2 separate regions of the Homo sapiens genome follow, and region 1 is linked to region 2. Evidence: promoter capture Hi-C in 16 types of primary human blood cells and fetal thymus (Javierre and others, 2016). All regions are on one chromosome and are shown on one strand. The core of a region is centred on a gene start or on the middle of the fragment in contact, and the rest is flanking DNA. Distances in the headings are between cores, read along the strand shown.

Evidence for each region. Contacts are between HindIII fragments. The CHiCAGO score rates a contact against its expected background, and 5 or more counts as called.
Region 1: a fragment that was not itself captured here is called in contact with the fragment with the promoter of ABLIM3 in region 2 in 2 of 17 cell types (naive CD4 T cells and naive CD8 T cells); the score reaches 7.2 in naive CD4 T cells.

The regions. Positions count from the first base shown.
Region 1 is chr5:149,240,062-149,247,533 of GRCh38, forward strand. ABLIM3 (actin binding LIM protein family member 3) reads left to right here. Exons shown (of 24, transcript NM_014945.5): 14 at 615-713; 15 at 2,430-2,477; 16 at 4,820-4,954; 17 at 6,421-6,485. Among named protein-coding and RNA genes, the nearest start is that of AFAP1L1, 28 kb to the right of the region's middle. The HindIII fragment of the contact is 3,276 bases long and covers 423-3,698 here.
Region 2 is chr5:149,139,966-149,147,238 of GRCh38, forward strand. It overlaps ABLIM3 (actin binding LIM protein family member 3), which reads left to right and starts at 1,528. Exons shown (of 24, transcript NM_014945.5): 1 at 1,528-1,689; 2 at 2,044-2,143. The coding sequence starts at 2,131. LOC124901102 (a long non-coding RNA gene) reads left to right here and starts at 2,151. Exons shown (of 2, transcript XR_007058988.1): 1 at 2,151-2,824; 2 at 3,468-3,633. RefSeq lists a silencer at 1,394-1,643 and enhancers at 1,949-2,450, 2,451-2,950, 6,027-6,196. The HindIII fragment of the contact is 6,101 bases long and covers 1,230-7,273 here.

The sequences.
Region 1 (7,472 bases), core at 811-3,310, 100 kb after region 2:
GGCAGGGGGGATGGAGGAGTGTGTGGCACTGAGAAGCAGCAGGAAGGTGGGTGGTGAACTTCCAGGAGAGGGGGCTGGCAGGTGGCCCTGTGGCCCTGGTGGAAGAAGACTCCACCATCCTCGTGGCCTGCCCCATCCGGAGGGCAGAACCAAGAGACCAGAAATATGGCTATGAACTGGCCTTCACCCAAGGGCCACCCCAGCCAATCCAGTCAGACCATCCACAGTCACCCTCAGGTTGGGGGTGATGCCAGCACTTGGATGGAGGAAAGGAGCAATTAAGGGAGCGTCCAAAAGGGGGAGGTTCAAGGATGGTTGGGGAGATAAGAGGTTCAAACTAACATGCCTTCCTGGAGCTCAGTAGAGTTGATCTTTACATCTCACAAAATCTGACTTTGGGATCAAGCCAGGAAGCAAAGTCAAGCTTGTTTCTGCCAACGTGGTGCATGAGAGCACATGCTGCTTCCGCCCCGGAACCTGAGCACGCTGAGACGCCCCAGCCCATCCCCCATCTCTGCTGTCATCACCTCACCACTTCCTAAACTGCCACCGCGTTAATGCCTGTTTTCTCTGTGCCTCTGTTTTCTTTGGCGACCACTTCCTGCGTGCTCCAGGGCCCGAGAGTGGCCGGAGCTCTCCATACCATAGCCAGTTAGATGTGAGGTCCTCCACTCCAACCTCTTACCAGGCTCCCAAGCACTTTCACATCCCAGGTAGGCACTGCCAGCCCAGAATTCCTGGGATGGATGCATGCTCCATGGGGTCACAGGTGCCTGAGTCACCCCCTCGATGCCACACAGGCACCAAGAAGCTGGTTCCTGAGGGACCTCCCTAACCAAGCACCTGCACCAACCCTGTCCTCCAACCCCAACACACCCACGGGCTTCAGATTATCCACTTGACAGAACCAGCCTCCATTAGGACCTCAAAGAAGCAGTCCCGGGAAGAAAAGAGGCAGGGAGCTCGAGTGAGATACCGTGAGTGCTTGAGGGCTGTGAGGGGCGCAGCAGGGGCACACAGCGGTGAAGGCTACACACTTTGGCTTCAAAGCTCTTGGGATGGAATCCGATGCAGCTGCTTATAAGCTCATGACTGTGAGCCAGTTACTTGGCTTCCCAAGCCACTGTTATTCCTTCTGTACAGCTAAGCACTGTTCTGGGCTCAGAGGTTGCAACTGTGCTCAACCCAGCCCAGATCCTGCCTTCATGGTATTTGGTATTTACGTACTAATGTAGGAAGAGAGATAAAAATGAGTAAACAAATAGGTAGAGGATAATTTCAGGTAGCCATAGGTGCCATAAACATAAATAAAACAGGCCATCCTGAGAGATGATGAGGCTGAGAGAGGCCAGGCTAGATGGGGCGGTCAGGAAGAGCTTCTTGGAGGAGGTAACATTAAAGCTGAAAGATGAGAAGGGGCCTGGCGTGGTCGCTCACGCCTGTAATCCCAGCACTTTGGGAGGCCGAGGCGTGTGGGTCATGAGATCAGGAGTTCGAGACCAACCTGTCCAACATGGTGAAACGCTGTCTCTACTAAAAATATAAAAATTAGCTGGGCATGGTGGCTTGTACCTGTAATTCCAGCTACTCAGGAGGCTGAGGCAGGAGAATTACTTGAACCTGGGAGGCGGAGGTTGCAGTGAGCCAAGATCGTGCCACTGCATTCCAGCCTGGGTGACAAAGTGAGACTCTGTCTCAAAAAGAAAAAAAGATGAAGAGCCAGCCTATGAAGAAGCCAAGGAAAGACATCCCAGGCAGAGGGAAGAGCACTATCATGTCATGTGACCGCAGGTCATGACAGGAATTGAGAGGAAGACAGGGGCTACAGGACTGAGTGGGTGTAGTTTGGACAAGGTCTCCCTCTGAGTCACAGCAGAGCCAGGGCTGAACCTCAGTCTCCTGACACCAAGCTCAGTTTTTCACTCCCCACTCACGTTCCCCTCAAGAGCTCATGCTGCTGTTTCATCTACACCTTCCTCAGCTGCCCTAGAGGGGTCCCATCCTGTCTGTCTTTGAGGGAGGGGGAGGGAGGTAAGCTGAAATTCGGCTGCAGCATCCTGGGAATTTTCACATGGAATGAGGTGTGGCCACTGGTGGAGGCAGTGGACACCTTCCTGCATGGGGCTCTGCTGAGCACACACACCCCTGTGCCTGCATGCTCACCCTTCAAGCCCCAGGTCTCTTCCTCGGCACCACTTGGATCCATCCATTCCTCTTCCCGCACCTTACTTGGAACCTGTTGGGACGAGGTTGAAAGTTCAACTTTGGAAGAGGAAGTCACCAGGGGAAAAAGATGGTGGCCCCTTGGAAAAAGTTGTTGCCCATCTCTCTCTTCTGAGATCAACTGACCAAGTACTATCTCCTTTTCTCCCTTTTCTCCTGTCTCTCTCTCTCCCCTCCCCACTGTCCCTTCCTGGTCTGTCTGGCAGCTGGAGACAGTAACATCTACCGGAAACCCCCGATCTACAAACGGCATGGTATGGTCAGAGGTAGATAGGGCTTGGCCACACAAGGAGAGGGGGGAGGTTAACCATCTATGCAGATGGCCCTGCACAGGCCACCAGGAGCCACAAAACACAAGGCTGCATCTTGGTCCTTCTTGTTGACTGCCCCATCACCCAGGGTGACATTAGGGCAGAGTTTGGTATCATTTCAAAAGAACAAAGTCCTCATGTCCCCTCAGTTCTTTCCCACCACCTTTGCAATCTCCCCCTTACCTGCTCTCTGTCATCCTAAGTTCCATAATTGGTAAAACCTTTGTAAAACGCACATGCCCCTGGGAGAGTCACACTCCAAGGCATTAATACTTGAAATGTTCATTAGAATAACAGGGGATGCATACAGATTCCTGGGCCCCACCCCAGGCTTACTGAATTCGAATTCTGTATGTGTCACGGTTTCTCCAAGTGATTCTGATACTCAGCCCAACTTGGGAACCCCTGCTGTAAGTTGTTCTCAGTCACAGTCTCCTGAGAGTGGATGGAGACTTGCAGAGGAGATGTAGATGAGTAAGGTTGCAGAGGGTGACTTCCTTCTTTCATTCATTCATTGATTTAGTGTTTCTTAAAGAATGATCTATGGACCATCTGCACCTGAGAGACATTTAAAAGGCAGATTCCCTGGCCCCTTCCTTGCCCCAGACTCCCTTAATTATAAATATTGAGAGTGTGAACTAAGAATCTGCACTATAACTGGCTTTGTCCATGATTCCTCCCTGCACTTAGTATGAGAACCACCAAGTCATTCATCACTGACACCACCTGTTCACTTTTGCAAAAAGTACTTACTAAGCCTCGATTGAAGGAGCACATCCCTTCCATTGAAGCTGCAGAGGAGCAGCTGCCACCCTGTGCACCCACACTTGCTTAAGGGTCTAGCTGGATAACAAAAGGAGGCCCAGAATCGGTGGAGCTTGGAGATGAGCGAAGCAGTCCTGCACCAGGTTCTGAACTAATTAGCTGGTGGAGGGGACAATACGAGTTTAAACAGCGGCTCTGGGTGCCTAAGATTCTACATTTTATACAGACATCCTTGGTTCCAGAGGGGGCTGAGCAGGGGGGTCCGAGGTGAGTCTGTGAGCATGTGCAAGTCTGTACCAGCTTGTGAAGGACATGCCATGTCCCCTGAGTACTCATAGAAAGACACCAACATGACAAAGGTAGTTTGGCTTTATACCTAGAAAAGGCCCCCAGGTCACAAGCTTCTCAGGACTTTGTGGGATTTTCCAGGTGGGCCCTGAGGGGTGGCACTAAAGCAGACTCAAGAGGAGTCTGGGGTGGAGGTGGGTTGCTTGGAAAAGAGGGCGGAGGAAAAAGCTAAATGCAGTCAGCCAGGAGGGGCTGCCCAGGACCCAAGTCAAAGAGAAGAATTTGAAAGCTTTGGAAGCAAGTGCTGTTGTGGGGGCTGCATAGCCCAGGGCTGGCTGAAGCTGATCCACCACGCTCTGCCACTCTGGCTCCACAGAGCACAGAGCTTGTCCCTAAAGCTTCCTGTAGCTGACCATGAGAAATGGTCATGCAGCCACACACACTTCCCCAGCCCCTCTCTCTGCTCTACCAGCCTGTCACCCACGTTTGGGCCACGAGAAGTCACTGCTCTGTAAGTAGTTGTGACTGCAGTGGGTCTTTTTGGTCACCCCTGTCCTGGGCTTACTTCAGGTGGAAGCTTGAAGCTGGATGGCAGCTGAGCCAGCAGACCGATTCTGACACTTACAGATGAGGAAACTAAGGCAGAGATGGTAGGACCTGCCCAGTGTTACAGCTGAGTAAAGTGGCAGAGCTGGGACCAGAACCCAGGTTTGCTGACTCCCTGTCTAGCACTCCTTCCTTCAGGCTATGTAGTCCCTGAGCAGAATGTGGCATCTCAGGTTGTGAGAAATGATGGAGTTCAAATTTATAACAAGGAAGGCTTCTAAAGGGCTAGGAAGGCTTCTAAAGGGCTGGGGCTCACCTGGGACCTGTCCAGTCTTATTTGAGGAGCCACACCCTTAGAGGTCATTCTGGAACAGACCTGGGAATCCATGGAATGTGCTGGAAAGAGCCCTGGGCTGGGATCTGGTCCAGTTCTGGTGCTCACATGCTATGTGGTCTTAAGCAAGCCCCTTCCCCTCTCTGGTGCTCCAATTACTAAATGCAAAATGAGGGTTTGGCCCCAGTGCTTTTCCAGCTCCGATGCTCCATGGCCCAGTTCTAACAGAGAGCCCTGATCTTGAAGTGGACTCACTCCCCTGGGCTGGAGCCTGGTAAAGATAGGAAAAGGGTACACAGTCCCATCCCGGTCACTCTGCCTTCCTGAAGTGCTCTCCTTGGGTCCTCTGCAGGTGATTTGTCTACAGCAACCAAGAGCAAAACAAGTGAAGACATCAGCCAGACCTCCAAGTACAGTCCCATCTACTCGCCAGACCCCTACTATGCTTCGGAGTCTGAGTACTGGACCTACCATGGGTCCCCCAAAGGTAGTACCCCCATAGGAGCCTGGGTCCAGGGCCCTAACACCTGTGCCAAGGACACGGGTGTTCAGAACAGTTGCCCACTCCTTTATACAATCATTCTGAATAAGAGTGCTTAGAGGGTTTATAACTAAGGGTGTTTATTCATTCAACAAATATGTACTAAACACTGGCCATGGACCCTAGCAATACACTGGGGAGCAAAACAGACCAGGTCCCTGCCCTTGTGGAGAAGACATAGGCCCCAGCCATGAGAGGGAGGTGATGCGCAGAAGGTAGGAGAGCTGATGGCAGGGGCCTGCTGTCCAGCCTGAAGATGACAAAAGTTTCTCAATGCAGCCACTCAGCTGCCATCAGGAGGGTGGCAAGGATGTAACACAGCAGAGAGTGTAGAAATACTTCTGCAAAGACCCAGGATGTGAGAGAGGATTCCACTGGAGGAAAGAAAAGGCTGTCCACTTAACCTTGAACTCAGAGAGGAAGAGAAGCAGTAGAGGTGAGGGAGGAGGTCCCCCAGGGTTTTGAGGGTTGAGGTAAGGATTTTGGTTGTTATCCTAAACAGTGAGTGGCATGATCACATTGAAAGTAGTGGCATGATCACATTTGTGCTTTTGAGAGACCACTTTGGCTGTAGGGTAAAAAATGGTTGGGAGGATGGAGAAAGAGAGGATGTGGGGAGGTGGAAGGCTCCTGGTAAGGGGTCTCAGTGGTCCTCAGATACCACCTCACCCAATCATACAACCCAAGCTGTTCCTTTCAAGTATGGGGGGAAATTTTTCCCCCCATCAAGATCCACTCTGATTCAATGTCTTTACTAATTCAATGTCCATTCTGAGCAAAGCTTCACAGAAGCTCAGAGATGACTCTTTGGTGCTGGGCACAGTGGCTCACGCCCGTAATCCCAGCACTTTGGGAGGCCAAGTTGGGAAGATCACTTGAGCCCAGGAAATTGAGACCAGCCTGGACAACATAGCACTTCTTCTCTACAAAAAAATTTTTAAAAATTATCTGGGCATGATAGTGTATGCCTGTAGTCCCAGCTACATGCAAGCCTGAGGCAGGAGGATCCCTTGAGCCTGGGGACTTGAGGCTGCAACAAGCCATGATCACACCACTGCACTCTAGCCTGGGTGAGAGTGAGCCCCTGTCTCAAAAATTTAAAAATTTAATAAAAGGATGACTCGTTCGCTACTCTCAAAGAAGTCTTCATTTAGAAAAGAAGGTAAGACACAAATACGACTATAACCAAGTGGGCAGTGATCCATCCCCACAGGAGAGGAGTGTTCAGAGACCACAAAGGCAGCAGAGACCACTTTCAGCTGATGTGGGGCTTAGCTTAAACGAGACTGTTTCCATTGAAAAATAAGATTAAAAAGAAAGAAAAGTGGCTTTTCTTTTTTAAAAAAAAAATGCCTTAAGCCAGGCTGAGTGGGGTGCACATGCCGGAGCTGATCTTTTCTGTCTTTTGACAGTGCCCCGAGCCAGAAGGTTCTCGTCTGGAGGAGAGGAGGATGATTTTGACCGCAGCATGCACAAGGTGGGCAGAGACCACAGCACTGAATATGATGCTTAGAGCGTATATCACTGAGGGTCTTTTCATTTACAAGCAACAAAAAACAGATTCAAGCCCACTTATGATAGAAAAAAGAAAAGCATAGCTTTGCATAACTGAAAAATCAAATGGTGGAATTAGCTTAAAGTATGACTAGATCCAACTGCTCAAAAAAATGTCATAGGAAATTTGTCTCTTCACTTCTGGGGCTTGCCTCTGCATTGGCTTCATGCTCAGGCAAGCTATTTTCACATAATGGTAAGCAGGTGCTTGCAACCCTTGTTCATTGCTGGTGAAACCCTTGTTTCAGCCCCTGTGGAAAACAATTTGGTGGTTCCTCAAAAATTAAACATAAAATTACCACATGATCCAGCAATTCCACTCCTAGATATATACCCAGAAGAATTAAAAACAGGACTTAAACAAATACATATATACTCATATCCGTGGCAGCACTATTCACGAAAGCTAAAATATGGAAATAATCCAAATGTCCATCAGCTCATGAATAGGACAAAATATGGTATGTCCATACAGTGGAATATTATTCAGCCATGAAAAGAAATGAAGTAATGATACATGCCACAATGTGGATGAACCTTGAAAACATTATGCTTAAGAAAAGAAGCCAGACACAAGGTCGCATATTGTGTGATTCCATTTCCATGAAATATGCAGAATAGGCAAATCCATAGAGACAGAACATAGATTGCTGGTTCCCAGGGGCACGGGGAGAGGGGAATGGGGAGTGAGTGCTTCATGGATATGGGATCTCCTTTGGGGGAAATAATGGTATTTTGAAACGAGATAGAGGTGGTAGTTCCACAACATTGTGAATGCACTGAATGCCACTGAATCATTTCCTTTAAAATGGTTAATTTGAAGTTAAGTAATTTTCACCTCAGTTAAAAAGAAAAAGGTGGCTATCTGCCCATTGTTGAATCAATCACTGTGCCAAGACAATGGGATCCT
Region 2 (7,273 bases), core at 278-2,777:
TCCCTCCCCCAGTCCCCTATCCCACAACAAGCCCCAGTGTGTGATGTTCCCCTCCCTGTGTCCATGTGCTCTTATTGTTCAACTCCCACTTATGAGTGAGAACATGTGGACAAAATTCTTAACAATCTATCAAATGTGTTTCAAATCTATTGATCCTTAGGTTTATCCAAAGATTCTTTAATCCTGATCACCTCTCGGGGTCATGAGCCATATCCTTTTTTTCCTCCCTGTGTAAGGTAGAAACGTTGTATTTATCTAAAAGCATTGTATAAAAACATCGTATTTGTCTTTCCCCAATTTTAATAGGGCAGCTATCTAATCTCACACTGATATCCCAGACTTTAGTGCACTGAGCCACTCTCACACAGGATCAAGCTAGAAGTGAGAAGATCTGGTCCGATTCTGCCACAAGATGCTGTGTGTCTTAGGGCACGTTGCCCAGCCTCTCTGACACCCTGTTTCCTTGTCTAAGCTGGGGCTGTGAGTGTTCACAGCCTTTTGAGTCTGCACATGCTCTAATTGAAGTCATGCTATAGACAAGGATCATGTGCCCTCACAGTCTTGTTTTTCAGCACTCAAAAGTCATGCTTCTATGATCATGAATTAGGTTCAGAAAGTGACAGAGTAAGTAGTCACAGGAATGTAAAGAGCCCTACCCCACTGAATCAATTGTGACTAAAACACTTTGGAATATAAACTTCTACAATACACACGTATAAGACATAATTACAAAAAAAAAAAAAAAAACAACAACAACTTGGGGGAAGAGTTAGTTGACCATATGAAAACTAGGGTGGACCTGTGAGGCCACATACCTGCTGTTCTCCTCAGACGGGGAAGTGTTTCAGGGTGGGGCGCCTAGGCAGTCTACTCTTAGGGCTGTGTAATATTAAACCCAGAAAATGTCTGGGTTGCTCTGTCAACAAATATTTATTGGTAGCCACTATATGCCGGGCCCTGTGCTAGGTATTGGGGGCCTGTAGGTGAACCCTACGGACAGACCCATTCTTTCACGGAGCTAACATTCTCGTGGGGAAAAGAGGTAATAAACAATTCTAATGATGAATCAGCGATAGAGGATAAAGGGAATCTGTGAGGGAAGAGGGGACATAAACGCTGGGAGGCTGGAAGAGCCCCTTACGTGTTATCCACTTGTCCAGACGCCATATTCATAGTTGAGAAAGATGAGGCAGAGACGGTAGTGACCGGCTTGAGCCTAGACTGCGCCAAGCTTGCCAGAGCAGAGCCGGGTGGAAACTGTCTTCCTGCAAAGCCAGGTTTTCCTTCACGGCCCCTCCTAATGATGTTTCTTTTCCTATCATTGTCGAGCCCTTAGAACCCCAGGATCGAGGGAGGGAAAACAAGCGCTCAAGCACTCCCTCGTTGGTCCCAGGACACAAGGCCTCGTCCATCTCACAAGGCCTCGTCCATCTCCCATCACACCCTAGGGCCCAGGCAGAAGCCCGGCGGGGCGGGGCCTCGGACACGCGCCGGTGCGTCCAGCAGGTGGCAGCAGCGAGCGGCCGCGCCCCCTGCGCTGCCAACCCGCGAGCCCGCATCATGGATGTCGAGCTCCCCTATTTCGCATTGCTAGCCCTGGAATTCGAGACCCCAGACGAGGACCAGGATTCATGAAATCAGTCGCAGGGGCCGGGGCAGGGGCCTCTGGCTCCCGACACTGGCCGAGAGGTGGGTTCCGGGGCGGGTCGCTGCTCCTTGAAGCCGGGCGGGGACGCGCTGCCCCCGCCCTGCCTCCCTGTGGTCCACACCCCCTTTGGGCTCCGGAGCCGCTGGGCAGGAATAGTCCGGGGTGCGCGCGAGCAGGCGCTGCCAACCCCACTTCTGCCCGGGATTCCAATCTGAGGAGCAGGAGGACCGGGGCGCCGGTGTCCTGCCGCCTCCTTCTCCTTGCTCTCACCTGCGCCTATTAGTCCACGCGCCTTCAAGGCCAGGGGCTACAGCCCAGACAGAGAGGGGACAGCAGAGGGAGAGAGAGCACCTGAGGATACAGAGCTGGCACTGGACTGCCTTTTCACCCCCCAGGTGATGAGTGAGGTTCGAAGAACGGAAGATTTAAAAAGCAGCCGGGGCCTCCGTATTGAATGAAAGACCCAGTGCAAAGACATCACCATGAACACTAGCAGTAAGTGGATCCTCCTCTCCTTTGCCATGGGAACAGGGGTGGGGGCGGGAGGTGAGGGAGCCTGCGCTCGGGCTGCCTGGAAAGAGGAAGGAAGCCTGGCATCTCTGGACACATGACCCCCAGGCTCTTTTTTGGTGCTTTCCGTGCTCCTTGGCAGAGGGATAGCTTCATGACTCTGGCTTTTCGTGATAATTTTGCCAATATTTTATCAGCGGCGCCGGCCGCCTCTCCTGGGAAGGCTGCTCGTCTCCTTCTAGCACTGCCTGGGAAGGCCTAGGAAGCAGTGTGTGGCCATTGTCTGACTGTGGGGGCTCTGAGGAGAACTCCCTGCACACATCTGGAAAACCATGGAGGGCCCTGCCTGTCCCAGAGGTGGGAAGAGCAGGGAGGCTGGCCTGTGGGCAGGCGGGAGGGTAGGTGGGTGTGGGCAGGCAGTGGGCTGGGAAGCCGCAGTTTGATAAACAAATAATCGCCAAGCCACCTTTGGGTCTGGAGATTGTGAAAGATCCAGCTCCCGAGTGCCTGCAGCCCGGTGGGCCCAGGGCTGGTTTCTCTATGTACCTGCAGGCTGGTTAGCTATCCTTGAGAACAAGAAGACAGGAACAGCCCTTTGGCCAAGGGCTCTAACATGCCAGAGGCAACAACTGCTTGCAGAGCCAGGACCAGATATTTTGCTGCCAGGTAGGGCCTCAGCTACTGAGAATGCAGTCCGAAATTCAAGAAGGCACAGTCTGTTTCTCTTCAATGTAGCGCTGTGACCTGGGAGGGCATATCTTGGTTCCAGACTCACTCTCCTGCCCTCTTGTCAGCTTGGCCTGTCTAGGTTATTCCAGCATCGCATAGGGCTGTTGAACCAGAGAACCCCTATGAACAGTCACTTCCCTGGGTCTATGACTTTGTTATCAGTCCCCTCTCTGCATCTCAGACTGCTCATCTGTATGATGAGAGGGGTTGAATTAGAAAGCCTTCTAATCGGCCAGGCACCGTGTTCCATGCCTGTAATCCCAGCACTTTGGGAGGCAGAGGCAGGTGGATCACGAGGTCAGGAGTTCGAGACCAGCCTGACCAACATGATGAAACCCCGTCTCTACTAAAAACACAAAAATTAGCCAGGTGTGGTGGTGTGGGCCTGTAATCCCAGCTACTCAAGAGGCTGAGGCAGGAGAATTGCTTGAACCTGGGAGGCAGAGGTTGCAGTGAGCCGAGATCACACCACTGCACTCCAGCCTGGGCGACAGAGTGAGACTCTGTCTCAAAAAATAATAATAATAATAATAAAAGAAAGCCTTCTAATCTAAGAATCTACACTTTTTTTCTTAAAAAGCTAGAGCTGAGCAACAAGGCCAGAACTATCAAGACCTTATTGAAGCTGTATCCAGCCAAAACCTACTATTTCCTCACACACCCCACCCCACCCCCACCTCCTAGCATGGAAGAGAAAAAAAAAAGCAAAAGCTACTGAGATGAAAATAAAATATATTTATTTACTACGTATTTGTATGATTCATCTCTCTGCTGTCTTCCTTTGTGTATTGCATATCTATGCTAAGCTAGCGAGTGTGGCTGGACTCCCTCTGCCTCTTACAGCCAAAGAATTTTGCCTTTTGATTTTGACAGGCTGGAATGGTGTTTTGGCTTCATACCAGGCTCAGGAAAAGAGGAAAATCCTGTAGCCTCTATCAGCTAGTGGGTCACATGTTTGCATTTGCATGTTTTCAGGCAAATAAAGATGTGAGTTGCCTGTCACTTCTCACTATCTCTAGGAAAAAAAAATGTATTTATGAGAGTCCTTTCCCACTAAGTGACAGAAAAGAAAGATGGCTCATCTATTTTTCAAGGAACTAAGAAAAGAAACAGGCAACTGACTCTGCCCTTTTCTCTCTCTGGAATGCTAAGGAACTCTTGTCCTATTAGTAACACTGAGTATTCCTGAAAGAAGGAAACAGACTATCCTTCTTTTAAGAAAAAGAAAGAAAGAAAAGAAAAAAGAATCAATAGAGTTGGATACTGCAGAATATGAGGACTGGCAAAAATGCCACTACTTTTTATAAGCAGGGAGAGTGTGTGAATTTTGCAGTAATGGAAAATGAACAGAGGAGAATGGCTCAGCAGCCTTGGAAGCCCTCCGGGTTCCCCCCAGGAGGAAGTGCTTCTCTAAACAGACACCTGGGGGACACAGCAAGCACAGAGCTTTGAGGGCTTAACTCCATCATCATGGAGGTACCTCCCAAACCCACGAGTCTGCAAATGCAGAGAGTAGACATCAGACCTCACAAGAAAAGGAGTAACAGAGCCATAGGGTGATATGGATAGGGCATTGGCAGGAGGTCCTTGGGTCACCTGACTAAGCAAAAAAGCTCCCCTTTGAGATGTGAAATTCTTAACTTGATCCTCATGCCTGATATTGTCCCTAATAGAAACTCTTGCTTAGTTTTTCTTTCACTTCTATTTATTTAGTCCTTATTCTCCACCAGCCACCATGCTAAGCACTCCCCTGATTGAGCTCACCAGACTGTCCCACCCAACCTGTGAGATGGGTGTTTTTACTCATTTTATGGGTGAAAATTTGAAGCTGTGTTCAGAAACGTTGTAGTTAATGCTCAGTGGCTTCTTCAAGTCATGCAGTTAATTGTTGGGTTATGAAAGGTACTTGGATGTGTAACACATTTGACACTGAGTACAACTCCTAATCAATGATTCAAATGTCAACACTGAAATAGAGGCAAAGCATGAGATTACAATCATCCCTTTGTACACATGGGGATTGGTAAAACTGTGCATACTAAGTCCTGCAGTCAGCCCTGTGGAACCTGCTTATACAAAGAGTCAGCCCTCAGTGTAGGCAGGTTTCAAATTCTGCAAATACTGTATTTTTTTAAATTTCAACTTTTATTTTAGATTCAGAAGGTACATGTGCAGGTTTTGTTACATGGGTATATTGCATGATGCTGAGCTTTGAGATACACTTGATTCCATGACCCAGGTACTGAGCATAGTACCCAATAGTTAGTTTTTCAACTCTTGCTCTCCTCCCTCCCTTCCCCCTCTAGTAGTGCCCAGTGTCTATTTTTGCCATCTTTATGTCCATGAGTACTTAATGTTTAGCTCCCACTTATAAGTGAGAATATGCAGTATTTGGTTTTATGTTCCTGAATTAATTTGCTTAGGATAATGCCTTACAGTTGCATCTATGTTGCTGCAAAGGACATGATTTTGTCCTTTTTTATGGATGCATAGTATTCCATGGTATAAATGTACTACATTTTCTTTACCCAGTACACTGTTGATAAACACCTAGGTTGATTCCGTATCTTTATTATTGTGAATAGTGCTGCAATGAACATATCAGTGTGTGTATCCTTTTGGCAGGATGACTTATTTTCTTTTGGATATATATCCAGTAATGGGATTGCTAGGTCAAATGGTATTTCTGTTTTAAGTTCTTTGAGAATTCTCCAAATTGCTTTCCACAGTGGCTGAACTAATTTACATTCCCATCAACAATGTAAAAGCATCCCTTTTTCTTTGCAGCCTTGCCAGCATCTGTTGTTTTTTGACTTTTTAATAATTGCCATTCTGACTGGTGTGAGATGGTATCTCATTGTGGTTTGGATTTGCATTTCTCTGATTATTAGTGATGTTGAGCATTTTTATTTTTTCATATTTATTCGCCACGTGTATGTCTTTTTTTTTTTGAGATAAGGTCTGGCTCTGTTGTCCAGGCTGATGTTCAGTGTAACAAACATGGAACACTGTAGGCTCAGCCTCCCAAGCTCAAGCGATCCTCCCACCTCAGCCTCCTGAGTAGCTAGGACCGCAGGTGGGTGCCACCAGGCCCAGTTAAGTTTTGTATGTTTATTTTGGTAGATATGGGGTTTTGCCATGTTGCCCAGGCTGATCTCAAACTTCTGGTCTCAAATGCTTCAGCCTCCTAAAGTTCTGGGATTATAGGCATGAGCCACTGTGCCCAGCCCACTTCTATGTCTTCTTTTGAAAAGTGTCTGTTCATGTCTTTTGCCCACTTTTTAATGGTTTTTGGGGGCGTGGGGTTTGTTTTTGTTTTGCTTGTTGAATTGTTTAAGTTCCTTATAGATTCTGGATATTGGTCCTTTGTCAGATGCATAGCTTTCAAATATTTTCTCTCATTCTGTAAGTTGTCTGTTTACTCTGTTGATAGTATCTTTTGCAGTGCAGAAACTCTTTAGTTTAATTAGGTCCCAGTTGTCGATTTTTGTTTTTGTTACAATTGCTTGCAAGGACTTAGTCATAAGTTCTTCCCCAAAGCCAATATCCAGAATGGTGTTTCCTAGGTTTTCTTCTAGAATTCTTATAGTTTGAGGTCTTACAGTTAAATCTTTCATCCATCTTGAGTTAATTTTTGTATATGGTGAAAGGTAAGGGTCCAGTTTCATTTTTCTGCATGTGGTTAGCCAACTGTCCCAGCACCATTTATTGAATAGGGAGTCTTTACTCCATTGCTTAATTTTGTCAGCTTTGTCAAAGATCAGATGGCTGTAGGTATGTGGCTTTATTTCTGGGTTCTCTATTCTGTTCCATTGGTCTATATGTCTGTTTTTGTAGCAGTACCATGCTGTTTTGGTTACTGTAGCCTTATAATATAGTTTGAAGTCAGGTAATGTGATGCCTCCAGCTTTGTTCTTTTTGCTTAGGATTGTTTTGATAATTTGGGCGCTTTTATGAGTTCACATGAATTTTAGAATTGTTTTTCTAATTCTGTAAAAAATGATGTTGCTAGTTTGATAGGAATAGCATTGAATCTATAAATTGCTTTGGGCAGTATGGCTGTTTTAATGATATTGATTCTTCCAATCCATGAGCATGGAATGTTTTTTCATTTGTTTGTGTCATCTCTGATTTATTTCAGTGGTGTTTTGTAGTTCTCCTCGAAGAGATCTTTCACCTCCTTGGTTACATATATTCCTAGGGTTTCTCTCTCTCTTTCTCTCTCTCTCTCTCTCTCGCTCGCTTGCTCGCTCTCTGTGTATGTGTGTGTGTGTGTGTGTGTGTGCATGTCTCTTGTAAATGGGATTATGTTCTTGATTTGGCTCTCAGCTTCAGTGTTATAGGTGTATAGAAATGCTACTAATTTTTGTACATTAATTTTGTATC